Linked DNA regions of Homo sapiens: region 2 is linked to region 1. Evidence: promoter capture Hi-C in 16 types of primary human blood cells and fetal thymus (Javierre and others, 2016). All regions are on one chromosome and are shown on one strand. Each heading gives the region's core, a stretch centred on a gene start or on the middle of the fragment in contact. The rest is flanking DNA. Distances are from core to core; before and after follow the strand shown. Region 1 holds the start of DIS3 (DIS3 exosome endoribonuclease and 3''-5'' exoribonuclease). Region 2 holds the start of KCTD12 (potassium channel tetramerization domain containing 12).

What was found. Contacts are between HindIII fragments. The CHiCAGO score rates a contact against its expected background, and 5 or more counts as called.
Region 2: a contact is called between the fragment with the promoter of KCTD12 here and the fragment with the promoter of DIS3 in region 1, in 2 of 17 cell types (fetal thymus and total B cells). The highest score is 5.9, in fetal thymus.

What each region holds. Positions count from the first base shown.
Region 1 is chr13:72,778,481-72,784,106 of GRCh38, forward strand. DIS3 (DIS3 exosome endoribonuclease and 3''-5'' exoribonuclease) reads right to left here and starts at 3,420. Exons shown (of 21, transcript NM_014953.5): 1 at 3,125-3,420; 2 at 2,366-2,523. The coding sequence starts at 3,352. It overlaps PIBF1 (progesterone immunomodulatory binding factor 1), which reads left to right and starts at 3,653. Exons shown (of 18, transcript NM_006346.4): 1 at 3,653-3,869; 2 at 4,943-5,241. The coding sequence starts at 4,990. RefSeq lists enhancers at 2,612-3,526, 3,444-3,553 and a silencer at 3,114-3,163. The HindIII fragment of the contact is 4,441 bases long and covers 2,987-5,626 here.
Region 2 is chr13:76,885,155-76,890,555 of GRCh38, forward strand. It overlaps KCTD12 (potassium channel tetramerization domain containing 12), which reads right to left and starts at 1,251. Exons shown (of 1, transcript NM_138444.4): 1 at 1-1,251. The coding sequence starts at 994. The coding sequence ends at 17. RefSeq lists an enhancer at 266-765 and silencers at 379-648, 1,049-1,478. The HindIII fragment of the contact is 7,244 bases long and covers 1-1,952 here.

The DNA of each region.
Region 1 (5,626 bases), core at 2,170-4,669:
CAATGGTATATCTTTTCTCTTGAATGTATTCAGATGTACACCTCAGAGAAGAAATCAAGATTCTTATAATTAAGTTTTTAAGAAACAATTTGCTTGGAAAAGAAGAAAATTATGTTATTAAGGGGACAAGAAAAAGGCTAATACAATTTTATTTCCTAAAAAGAAAAATTCAAGATCAGAATTTATACTTTAGGTTGAGACACTAAATAATAGTTTGTTGACAAATTATAATACAATTTCACAGGTATGATAATCAGATTTCATTCAAACTGTAGGTTAATAGCAATTCCTAAAAGCTACAAATAGTATAATTAGATCATTTATAATCAGAATTCTACAGTCATTAATAAATAATGCATATAAATTATCCATGGTAAACACTAATAGCTGAAGCTATGTAGAGACTGAAAAGTCAGGTATATTAATAGATATTACGTATTTCTTCTATCTAAACTCCCAAGTATGTCAACACATTCATCTATTTCTTTAAATCTGTTCATCAAAGCCAGGTTTAAGTACAACAGCAAAGTTCACTACAATAGCTTCCAGTACTTAATGGTAATAGATTCAATTTAATAATTTGATTTATATTAATAGTTTTAGAATTATTTTATTCCTCATCGTTGAATGCACTTGCTAATGCTTTTTTTTTTTTTTTGAAACAGAGTCTTGCTCTGTAGCTCAGGCTGGAGTGCAGTGGCATGATCTCAGCTTACTGCAACCTCTACCTCCGGGTTCAAGTGATCCTCCCAACTCAGCCTCGCAAGTAGCTGGGACTAGAGGCATGTACCACCATAACCAGCTAATTTTTGTATTTTTAAGAGACAGGGATTTTCCAGGTTGGCTAAGCTGGTCTGGAACTCCTGGCCTCAAGTGATCTGCCCACCTCAACCTCCCAAAGTGCCAGGATTACAGACATAAGCCACCACGCCCAGCTGCTAATGTTTTAAGCTCATCAGTGAAAGACACAGTCATAAATTTTTGAATTGGTTTTAAACTTGGGTCTTTCTGCACTGAAAAACAAGTGATGTTGCTATTTCTGGATTTCAAGGAGGTACTAACAATAAGAAGCCTACAAGGGCTTTACTGGTATTCTTTACAAGAACATTGAAGTTTGAGATATAAGAATCAAGAAAGTTGAGATATTAAGGTTTTTAAAAATGTGCATAATCTGATGGAATTTCATTACCAGAAGTCTACACTCTAATCCAATGGTTCTCAATTGAGTGAATTCACCCCTCAGGGCATTTTGTATCATTACAACTGAGTGGTGGTGGTGGTGGTGGTGGTGGGGGGGGTAAGGGGTGGTGATCCTGCCAAATAGGCTAGGAACACTGTTAAACATACTACAATGTATAAAACAGCCTTTCCACCACAAAAAAATTATTCAGTTCAAAATATCTATAATGCCAAGATTGAGAAGCCCTGATCTAATCCAATAAAAGTACCATACTCATCATAGATTATTTATGTAATATAACGTAATAGGCAATATCATATTTTTGAGACCACACACTGAGTTCAAAGGTCTTGAATCTAAAAGCACAACAAAGAATTATATTCCTGGCCAGGCACGGTAGCTCATGCCTGTAATCCCACCACTTTGAGAGGCTGAGGCAGGTGGATCACGAGGTCAGGAATTCGAGACCAGCCTGACCAACATGGTGAAACCCTGTCTCTACTAAAAATACAAAAATTAGCCTGGCATAGTGGTGCGTGACTGTAATCCCAGCTACTCAGGAGGCTGAGGCAGAAGAATCGCTTGAACTTGGGAGGTGGAGGTTGCAGTGAGCAGAGATCACACCACTGCACTCCAGCCTGGGTGACAGAGTGAGACTCCATCTCAAAAAAAAAAAAAAAAAAAAAAAAAGAATTCTATTCCTTAACCTAATCTTGCTCAATGTAATCAGCTGCAAAGTATTAAACTTTTAAAAAGACCATTAAGAATAAATCTACTTTCTATTTTTAAACAAAATAGAAACTTCACAAACTCATATATTTTATTACCCTCTGTTAGTTGTTCACATAATATGGTATTCCAGGAACTTAAGCAAATCTCATCTTCCAAGATTCTATGGTCCAACTCATGCTAAAACCAATTCAAAATGAAAACATTTTGGAAATTAAAGTACCTATTGTAGTCTAGGAGTCAGCAGACCTTGGTTTTAGGCTTGAGCCCATCAATGCCTGTGTGACCTTAGAGAGATCCACTTAGCATTATCTTCTGCACAGCCATGTAAGAATTAAATAAGGTATGAAATCTATCACTTATCTTCTGACAATGTCATAAATTACTCACAGGAACCCTCTCCCGAATTTTGCTAATCCTGTGGTTTTCTGATATTTAACGTAATATTCCTCCTACCTATGGTGCTCATTAGTGAAAGTATAGAAATGCTTCTCTTGGTTATTAGTCACATCTCGGATGCGTTTATATACGGGGGCACTGCGATTTCTCACTTCTTGAAGAACTGTTTGTAGCACAATTACATTCCTGATGGCAGGGTCCTCAAGAACATCAATCTTAAAGAAAGATAAAGTTAATTTTTCCTATATTCATTTGTAAATAGCTCTGTCAAACATAAAATCCTGTTTTATGTTGGGCATAAATACTTTATGTTTTAAAAACACTGAATAAGTTAAGCCAAGAAGCTATTTGGCTATAGAAAACGAGACAATAGTCACTAAACCCTTCAGATCTATTAAAAAAAGCACACTTAAACAGACCAATCACAAGACTTCGTAGAATTAAGGGTATTAATAAAGGAATACGTTGGCCCACATAGTTTTTTGTTCCTAGGCACTTACAAGCTGCCTGGGAGTCGCAGGCTGGAGGCCACAGAAGCCCAGGTCCCCGGCCTCCAGGCACTTACAATCTAAGGCAGAAGAGACACCAGGAGTTAGAAAAATAACGTGTCTGAACTACGACTCCAAGAACTAAATTTTTTAAAGCACAAGGAAAAGAACCTCGGCCTGGGGAACAGGAAGCTTCGGTCCCGAGGGGGTTTCCCTTTCGCTAGGTATGTGACACTGCCAAAGACCCGCCTCCCTGGGCCTCAGTTTCCCTGTCATACCCCCTTGTCCCCGTGGGGCCGCGCTGTCCGCGGTTCGCCCGCCCACGCACCTGGTGCAGTAACACATTAGTGTCGGGCAGCAAGTAGTGCGGTTGCGGGCAGACGCTGCTCGCCGGGTCCTGGGGCTGCGGCTCCAGGGCCGGCCCCTCGTGCGCCCCTCCACACGCTGCGCACCCGGGCGCACCGCAGCCGATGTCGTCTCGCAGGTAGTGCTCGCGCACGATCTTCATCACGCCGCCCGCCCGGGTCTTTTTTAAGAACGTCTTGGACTTGAGCATCTTGCCTCGCCGCGCAGAATCCTAACCCCAGCAGCGCTCTTCCAGCAAAAGGCGTCAATCTAGAATACGCCTAACCCCGGAGGTTCTTCCCTTTCCATTCCCGGATATTAGTAACACTTCTCGCGGGAAAATGCCGAGATAAACATTGGTTGGCTCTCTGACGGCCGCGGGGATTGGGCGAGAGTGGGGAGGGGCGGCAAAGCAAGGCGAGGAGCCATTTCCGCCCGTGGCCTAGGCGGGGCTTCCTTCTGGACGCCACCTCACAACGTGTGTTGCTTTCCGCTCCTCGGAACATCCGGGAGAGTTGACTTCCGGCGGCTTGTGGGAGTGCTGGTTCTGTCCTCCTTGCGGGTGCGGAGATGGTTGTCTTGGTTACGGGTCCTAACGGTCCCCTGCCTTGAAATCCCTTGTTGAGGGCCTGCAACCTTGTGCTTCCGACCGGAGACGCCTTTGGTCCCTCGGTGTCTGCACTGGCTGCTGGTCAAGGCTTCAGTGTGGAGTAATTGACACTTTCGAGGTAACTTGCGACTATCATCGCTTTCTTTCCCGCGTGGGGCAAGGAATCCCCCGAGCTGCCAAGTTTGGGGCTTAATTTTCACGCCGAGTGTATAGGCAGTCCCCGTCTCGGGCCCTTTGTAATCGAGGAGAGAATTTGTCTTTGAATTCACTTTTTCTTACCTATTTCCCTTCAAAAAGAAGGAGGGAGGCCGATCTTAGTATAGTTCTCGCTGTTTCCCCTCCACACACCTTTCCTTATCATTCAGTTTAGAAAAACTGAAATATTTAATAGCATAATTTGTTATATCATGAGGTATTAAAACAAGGTAGTTGCTAACATTCTTATGAGAGAGTTAGAAGTAAGTTCTATTTAGAATTTCTTGAATTTTTCTTATATCCTGTTGTTTTCATTCTGCTATCTATAAAAAATGTTTTTGTCCCCGTTTTCCCTATTTAAAACATCTTCAATGATGCCTCATTGCCTGTAGAATAAAATCCAACCCTATTTTGACATTTAAGGCCTTCCAGTCTTGATCGTTAAGGGCGTGTGTGTGTGTGTGTGTGTGTGTGTGTGTGTTTGTGTTTGTGTTGGGGGGGCGGTGAAAGGAGTAACTATTCCAAGACTTGGCTTTGTTTTTTTACTTCCACTTACGTATCATTAATAACTGCATGATTTCTCCTTTTTACCATGCCTGTCCAAATCTTTAAAGATTCTAAGTGCTACCTCTGTGTAACGTTTCCCTGACCAACTCAGACGTGATTTCTGTTATCTTTGAGCATGTGTTGGTTTTAGTGGTGCCATTCTTGATTATAATGGGCTTTTTTCTTCATCTTGTACATTTCTTTGTTTCCTCCAAGTAAGATTCCTCCCCGCAGGAACTGTTTTTTTAAGTTTCTCGAAGGCTGACTTCATATTAGGAATTAATGTGTTTGATTTGAGCATTAACTTAACTGCAATAATCTGTTCTAGATTTGGGATGCACTAAATTGCCTAATATTTATTTAAGGAATCCTTAGTCTCTCTTTAATACAGTCCATGATTTCTGTAGTTAATTTTATAGTACATTTGAATTAATGTTTTTTAACCTACAGAATATTAAAATCAAATTAGAGAAGAAAACTGATCCATAATAATAAAAATGTCTCGAAAAATTTCAAAGGAGTCAAAAAAAGTGAACATCTCTAGTTCTCTGGAATCTGAAGATATTAGTTTAGAAACAACAGTTCCTACGGATGATATTTCCTCATCAGAAGAGCGAGAGGGCAAAGTCAGAATCACCAGGCAGCTAATTGAACGAAAAGAACTACTTCATAATATTCAGTTACTAAAAATTGAGCTATCCCAGAAAACTATGATGATCGACAATTTGAAAGTGGATTATCTTACAAAGGTAAGATCAGGTTTAAATTTTGTGTTCTATATGCTTTATTGTCTTCAAACGGCAGGTAAATAAGAATTAAATACACACATTATCTGAACTTGAAATGATACATTTATATTTCTTGACAAGTACAGCCTTTAAATAATTTTGGTGTTCATAGAAGTAGAGAATAGAATGGTGGTTACCAAGGGCTGGCATGGTTAGGGGTGAAGGAGGGTTGGGGAGATGTTGGTCAAAGGATACATAATTACAGTTGAATAGGAGGAATACATTCAAGAGATCTATTGGACAGCATGGTGGCTATAGTTAATGACATTGTAATCTTGGAAAACATTGTGTTTTTGAAAAACACAGCAGATGTTAAGTGTTCTCATTACTAAAATAACTATGTGAG
Region 2 (5,401 bases), core at 1-2,500, 4.1 Mb after region 1:
AGGGGGTCTGGGGAGCTCACTCCCTGCAGAAGACGTACTCGGTGTAGCTGGTCCAGATCTTGTCCTCGCTCTGGTCGGTGCTGCTGGCAAAGGCGCAGGTGCCCGTGGAGCTGCACGCCACCATGTGGAAGCCCGACTCGGACAGCTTGTCGAAGGCCTGCTCCAGGAAGTTGAACTTGAGGTAATAGCGCGAGGTGTAGCGCTCCGGGGGACGGTCGGGGTCCCGGCTTTCGTTCAGGGTGTCCCCAAACACCTCCTTGGCCAGCGACGTCTTTCCGCAAACGGTGATGCGCGCCACTCGCCGGAACTTGGCGTCCGCCTGCGCGTCCCGCCCGATGGTGTAGGAGCCGCGGTAGCCGATGGTGATGTAGCCCGAGCGCCGGCTGCCGTCCAGCGACTGGGACGGCGTGAGCAGCGGGCCCGCCGCGCCCCCGGACGGACTGCGGCTAGCCAGCTCCAGCGTGGGCGACGGCGCCCCGGCAGAGGCGCCCTCCTGCTGTTCGGGCTCCGAGTAGCCAAGCGGCAGCAGCTCGTCACCCAGCGAGCCCTCCTTGTGCACCCCGCGCCGCGAGGGCGGCGGCCCCGGGCCGGGCTGCTGGGGCGCCCCGAGGCGGCGCACGAGCTCTGGCAGCTCGAAGTACTCGGCCTCGCGCTGCAGCCGGCTGCGCTCGGGGAAGTAGTCGGGCAGCACGAGCTGCAAGTCCCGCAGGTAATCCAGGATGTAGCGGAAGAGGAAGCCGTCCCGGTCCAGAAAGAAGCGGCCTTTGCTGTCCCGGGCCAGCTCCTGCGGCTGCTGCTGCGTGAACATGCGCCAGAGCAGCGAGTCGGGCACCGACACCACCGTGCAGCGCCGGGTCACGTACACCTGGCCCCCCACGTTCAGCTCCACGATGTCGGGGAAGAGCGGTGGCTCCGCGGAGGACGACGAGGAGCCACTGCCGCCCCCGCCGCCGCCCCCGTTGGGTAATCCACGTGTGCTGTCCGCCAGAGCCATGACAGAGAGGTGGCCGGGCCGGGACAGTGGCAGGAAGCCGCGCTGCACTCAGGAGCTGCAACCGCCTTCCCCGGAGCCCCGGAACCCGGACGCTCGCTCAGCCCTGCGCCCCGCCGCCGCCGCCGCCGCCACCGCCGCCACCGCCACCGCCGCCACCTCCTAGAGCCGCGCGGAGCCGAGCGGTGCGAGCGCGCCGCTGTGCGCCCCCTTGAGTTCCAGTGCGCTCCGCCCGCCTTGCCCGCGCGCTCCAGGCGAGTGCCGGGTCGCGGCCCGCGCGCTGCTTAAGTAGAGCCGCCTGCTCTGGTGCCGTGGCGCGCAGGAGGCGTGGGCGGCGGCGGAGCCTCGCTTACCGGGCGAGGGGAGGTGGGGAGCGGGGACTCGATTTGCATCTTAAACGCGGACGCCACGCGGGGCTGCTGGCTCCACCCCGGCTCGCGAGCGCTGGGGGCGCCCGGACTCCCACCCGCTCCCCACCCACCAGCCCCGCCCCGTGGTCCCGCCCAACTTTCTCCCTCTTCCGAAGAGGACCCGCCCGAGACTTGGCGGCTTCGGAAGACAGCTCCTTGGAGGGACAGTCACCGCGCCCCCTCCCCTCTCGCCCCAGCCCGCACCCAAGGACTCTGGAAGGAGGACGTGAACTTTCGGAAGCCTGTCGCCCCGGGAGTGGAAATGCGTGGCCGCCTCCGGCCCTCCCGCCTGCGGAACTGGGCGCTTCCAGCAGTGCAGCTGCGGCCTGCCATCGTTGGTTGTCGTGTCACTGAAAGTAGAGAGACGCGAAAAACCTGGAGAGACGAAAGAGCCGCCCCAGTCCGAGCGCAGCCAGATTTTGTTCAAGTTGCCTTGCAGCCAGCCTGGAAAATAAATAAATAAACCTAGAAACAAAAAGCAAACCTCAGTGTCCCGCAGTAGGATGCTTTACGATAGTTTATTTTCTGGCTGCAGAGACAAAATGAGATGAAGCTTCAAATCTGCTCTTAATTGCAATTCCCTCTTCCCGCAGGGCCTTCGAGGCACTTCACTTCGAAGTGAAGGGGTAAGACTCCGGAACGTTCGGTCTCCGGGTCCCATTCAGCCTTCGTTGAATCGCGCCCTTAGACTCACAACAGTTGCAGATCTAACGTAATTTTTAAAGCCACCTTTGGCGCCTGCATGTTTATCCTTCCAAAAGTCCAGGCGCCCCTTCTCTCCCGCATGCCTCGGTCACTCTTCGGCCCTGTCCAAGTTCCCGTCAGTCTCAGAAAGGGATATTTATATATCTGAAGGCCCTTGTCTGGATCCCATCTCTCAACTCCTGCTGCCTACACGTTTGCTTTTCCCCCTCGGACTGCAGCCCACAGAACCGCCCCCTCCCCCTGGAAGCTTTCCCTGGCTTCCCAGGTGGGTGGGGCCTCTGGATGGCTCCCTACACACTGTCTGCGCTGCTCCCAGCACGTTCTGAAATGTCATATTTATGAGTGATTATCTGATCACTGATTTGGGTATGAAAATAAGTAAGAGCTCCTGAATGCTGCAAAAAGAGAAGAGTGCAGAGGAGGGTGTCAAGAAATGATTGGGTCACTGAATGTTTCTTGTGTACCTGCTATTATTTGCAGGGCACCAGGGAGTGAGGAATGCAAAGGCGAATAATCTCCAAAGCGCTTTCAGTGTAGCCCAATAAGCAAAGGGTCAGGGGTCTGCGCAGTTATCACATCAGTTTGAAGTATAGACCACACATCAGGATAAATCAGGCAAGATCTTTGTTCTTGATAAAATTTATCCTTCTGTGTAACTACCCAGTGAGCTTCACAGTCTCCTCACAGATAAATGTCATTTTTATTTTGAAATGTTTATATCTGCTCAACAATTACCGCGCTCATGTCAGTGTGCTGAAATGAGATCAACCCCCAAACCAGTTATCTTAATTGCAAGTACAGATTTTGATACTGAATGTATTTCAACATTCTTTTTTTGTTGTTGTTCTGTTCTTTGGGATAAATAATAGATAACACAAAACTTCCAAGTCCCAGTGCAGGATTTCGAGGTGGTTGTGCTACTAGGCGTTATATTAGTGTCAGAGACCTGACAAAACCAGCCTCTTTTCTACAAATCCAAGAAAAGCCTTCTTTGTATCAGTTCTGCACATATTTTTGTATAATTACCATTGCTCATTGCATCAGCAAATCCTGCCAGCTCTGTGTTAAAAATCTTTCTAGACTATTAACGTATTTCACCATCTCCCTATCATCACCCTGGACCAAGCCACCATCATCTCTTGCCTGGATTATTGCACTGGTCTCCTAACTGCTTCTACTTCTGCTCCTACAGTCTTGTATCACCAGAACAAAAACAGGGACCCTGCTTATAATCCAAGGCTGGTATGTCACTCTGCTCAGAGCCTGCCAGTGGCTTCCTATCTCAGAAAGAGCAAAATCCAAAGTCCTCTCAGTGGCTTACAAGACTCTACATGTTTGGAGTTATCCCACCAGCACCTCTCTGACACATCTCCTGCCCTGCCCCCAGGAGCTGGCTGGCTTTAGCCACATAGCCCCTTTCTTGTTTTCTCAGGGCCTTTGCACATCCTTGTAAAAGTCTCATTTCTCCTCCCTCCCGTGTTCCTCACCTTGTTCAGGTCCCTCCCTTCTCACCTTCTTCAGGTCTGCCCAGCAAGACCTTTCCTTGATTCCACTTCTTAATGCAGCACAGCCTCACTGCAGCTTCCTCTTCCTTGCCTTATTTGTTGACTCTTTTCCTACATCAGAATATAAACTCCAAGACTTCAGCAGTTTTTGTCTGCTTGGTTCACTGCCACACCCCCACTGCCTAGAACAGAGCTGGTATATTACAGGCATTTGATAAATATCTGTTGCTCACGCAAGCATTCAACCACTATTTATTCAGGGCCTACTACTATATTCCAGGCTGCATGTTAAAAAATAATCACTGCCCACTAGGAGCTTATAGTCTTGCGAGGGAGACAAATAAATATAGTATAAAGATAAGTAAGCCTATTTCAGGTGGTGATAAATGCCACAAAGAAAATAAAATTATAAGATGTGATAGAGGGACTGAGTGTGGAATACTACTTTATACAGAGTGCCTGGGGAAGGCATCTCTGTGAATGTGACATTTGAGCTGAATAATAAGAAAGAGACAGCCATGGGAAGTTTTGGAGGAAGAGCATTCCAGGCACAGGGTCAAACAAGTTAAAGGGGCCTGAGTTATGAGTGAGCTCACATTGAAAGTTTATGTATTGTGTCATCTACTTGTATCCTGTGAATCTCCAAAGTACCCTTGAGATGATCAGTACAGAGTCAAATGTGAGTGATACCGTGTGCTTATTCACTACCTGCAGCCTACTATCATCATTCTCTACATCTTGACATAAGGTAGTCATCAACCACCAGCTAGTCTACTGCAGAAAAGCCATTGGTATTTCCTTATGGAAGCCAGGTAATGCATGAGAGATATAATAATGAATGAAACAGGTGATTTGAAACACAAGGAATGTTTTTCTAGTTAATTTTGTGTGTTCTGTTTCTTGCCTATTGGTTGGTATCACAGAATTCAAAAGGAAATACTACTGGGGAACTCTGATGCTGGGACTTGAGGGCCTGAGTGTTTATAAGAAGAGAGTCATAACTCTTTAGCATCTCCAGTATGTTAAATATGCTTGATTGCAAGGGATTGGGGAGGATTTGGAAACCCACTAGCCCTGTGTTTAGTCTCAAACCAGTTTCTAATGATGGTCATTGCTAATTGATGGTCATTGCTCCTTTTCAAGTAACTCTTTGTATTTTCCTGAATAAGATACAGTGTGCCTGCAAGTAACCTGTCCTTTGATCCTAAAGTGGAGGATACTGGAAACATCTCTGGACCTACATTCTCATCTCATTTGCATCTTCTCCCCCACCTACTGCCTTCTCTTCAAACCAGCTTCCCCTCCCACTCCCCACAGTAATCCTTCTTATCCAAAGTTTCCATTACCATGGTTTCAGTTACCCATGGTCAGCTGTGGTTTGAAAATATTACATGGAAATTCCAGAAATATAACTAATTCATAAATTCAAAATTGCACACCATTCAGAGTAGTGTGATGAAATCTCCCACTGTCCTGCTTCGTCTTGCCCTGGACATGAATATCCACACCTCTACACTCCCAACCCATGAGTCACTTAGTAGCCATCTCAGCTGTCAGATCAACTGTCTTAGTATCACCCTATCACAGTGCTTGTGTTCAAGTAACACTCAGTTTACTTAATAAATGGCCACAAATTACAAGAGTAGTGATGCTGGCAATTCAGATATGCCAAAGAGAAGCCATAAAATGCTGCCTTTAAGTGAAAAGGTGAAAGTTCTCAATTTAATAAGAAAAAAAAAGTTACATCCCAAGGTTGCTAAGATCTATGATAAGAATGTAGACATTGTGAA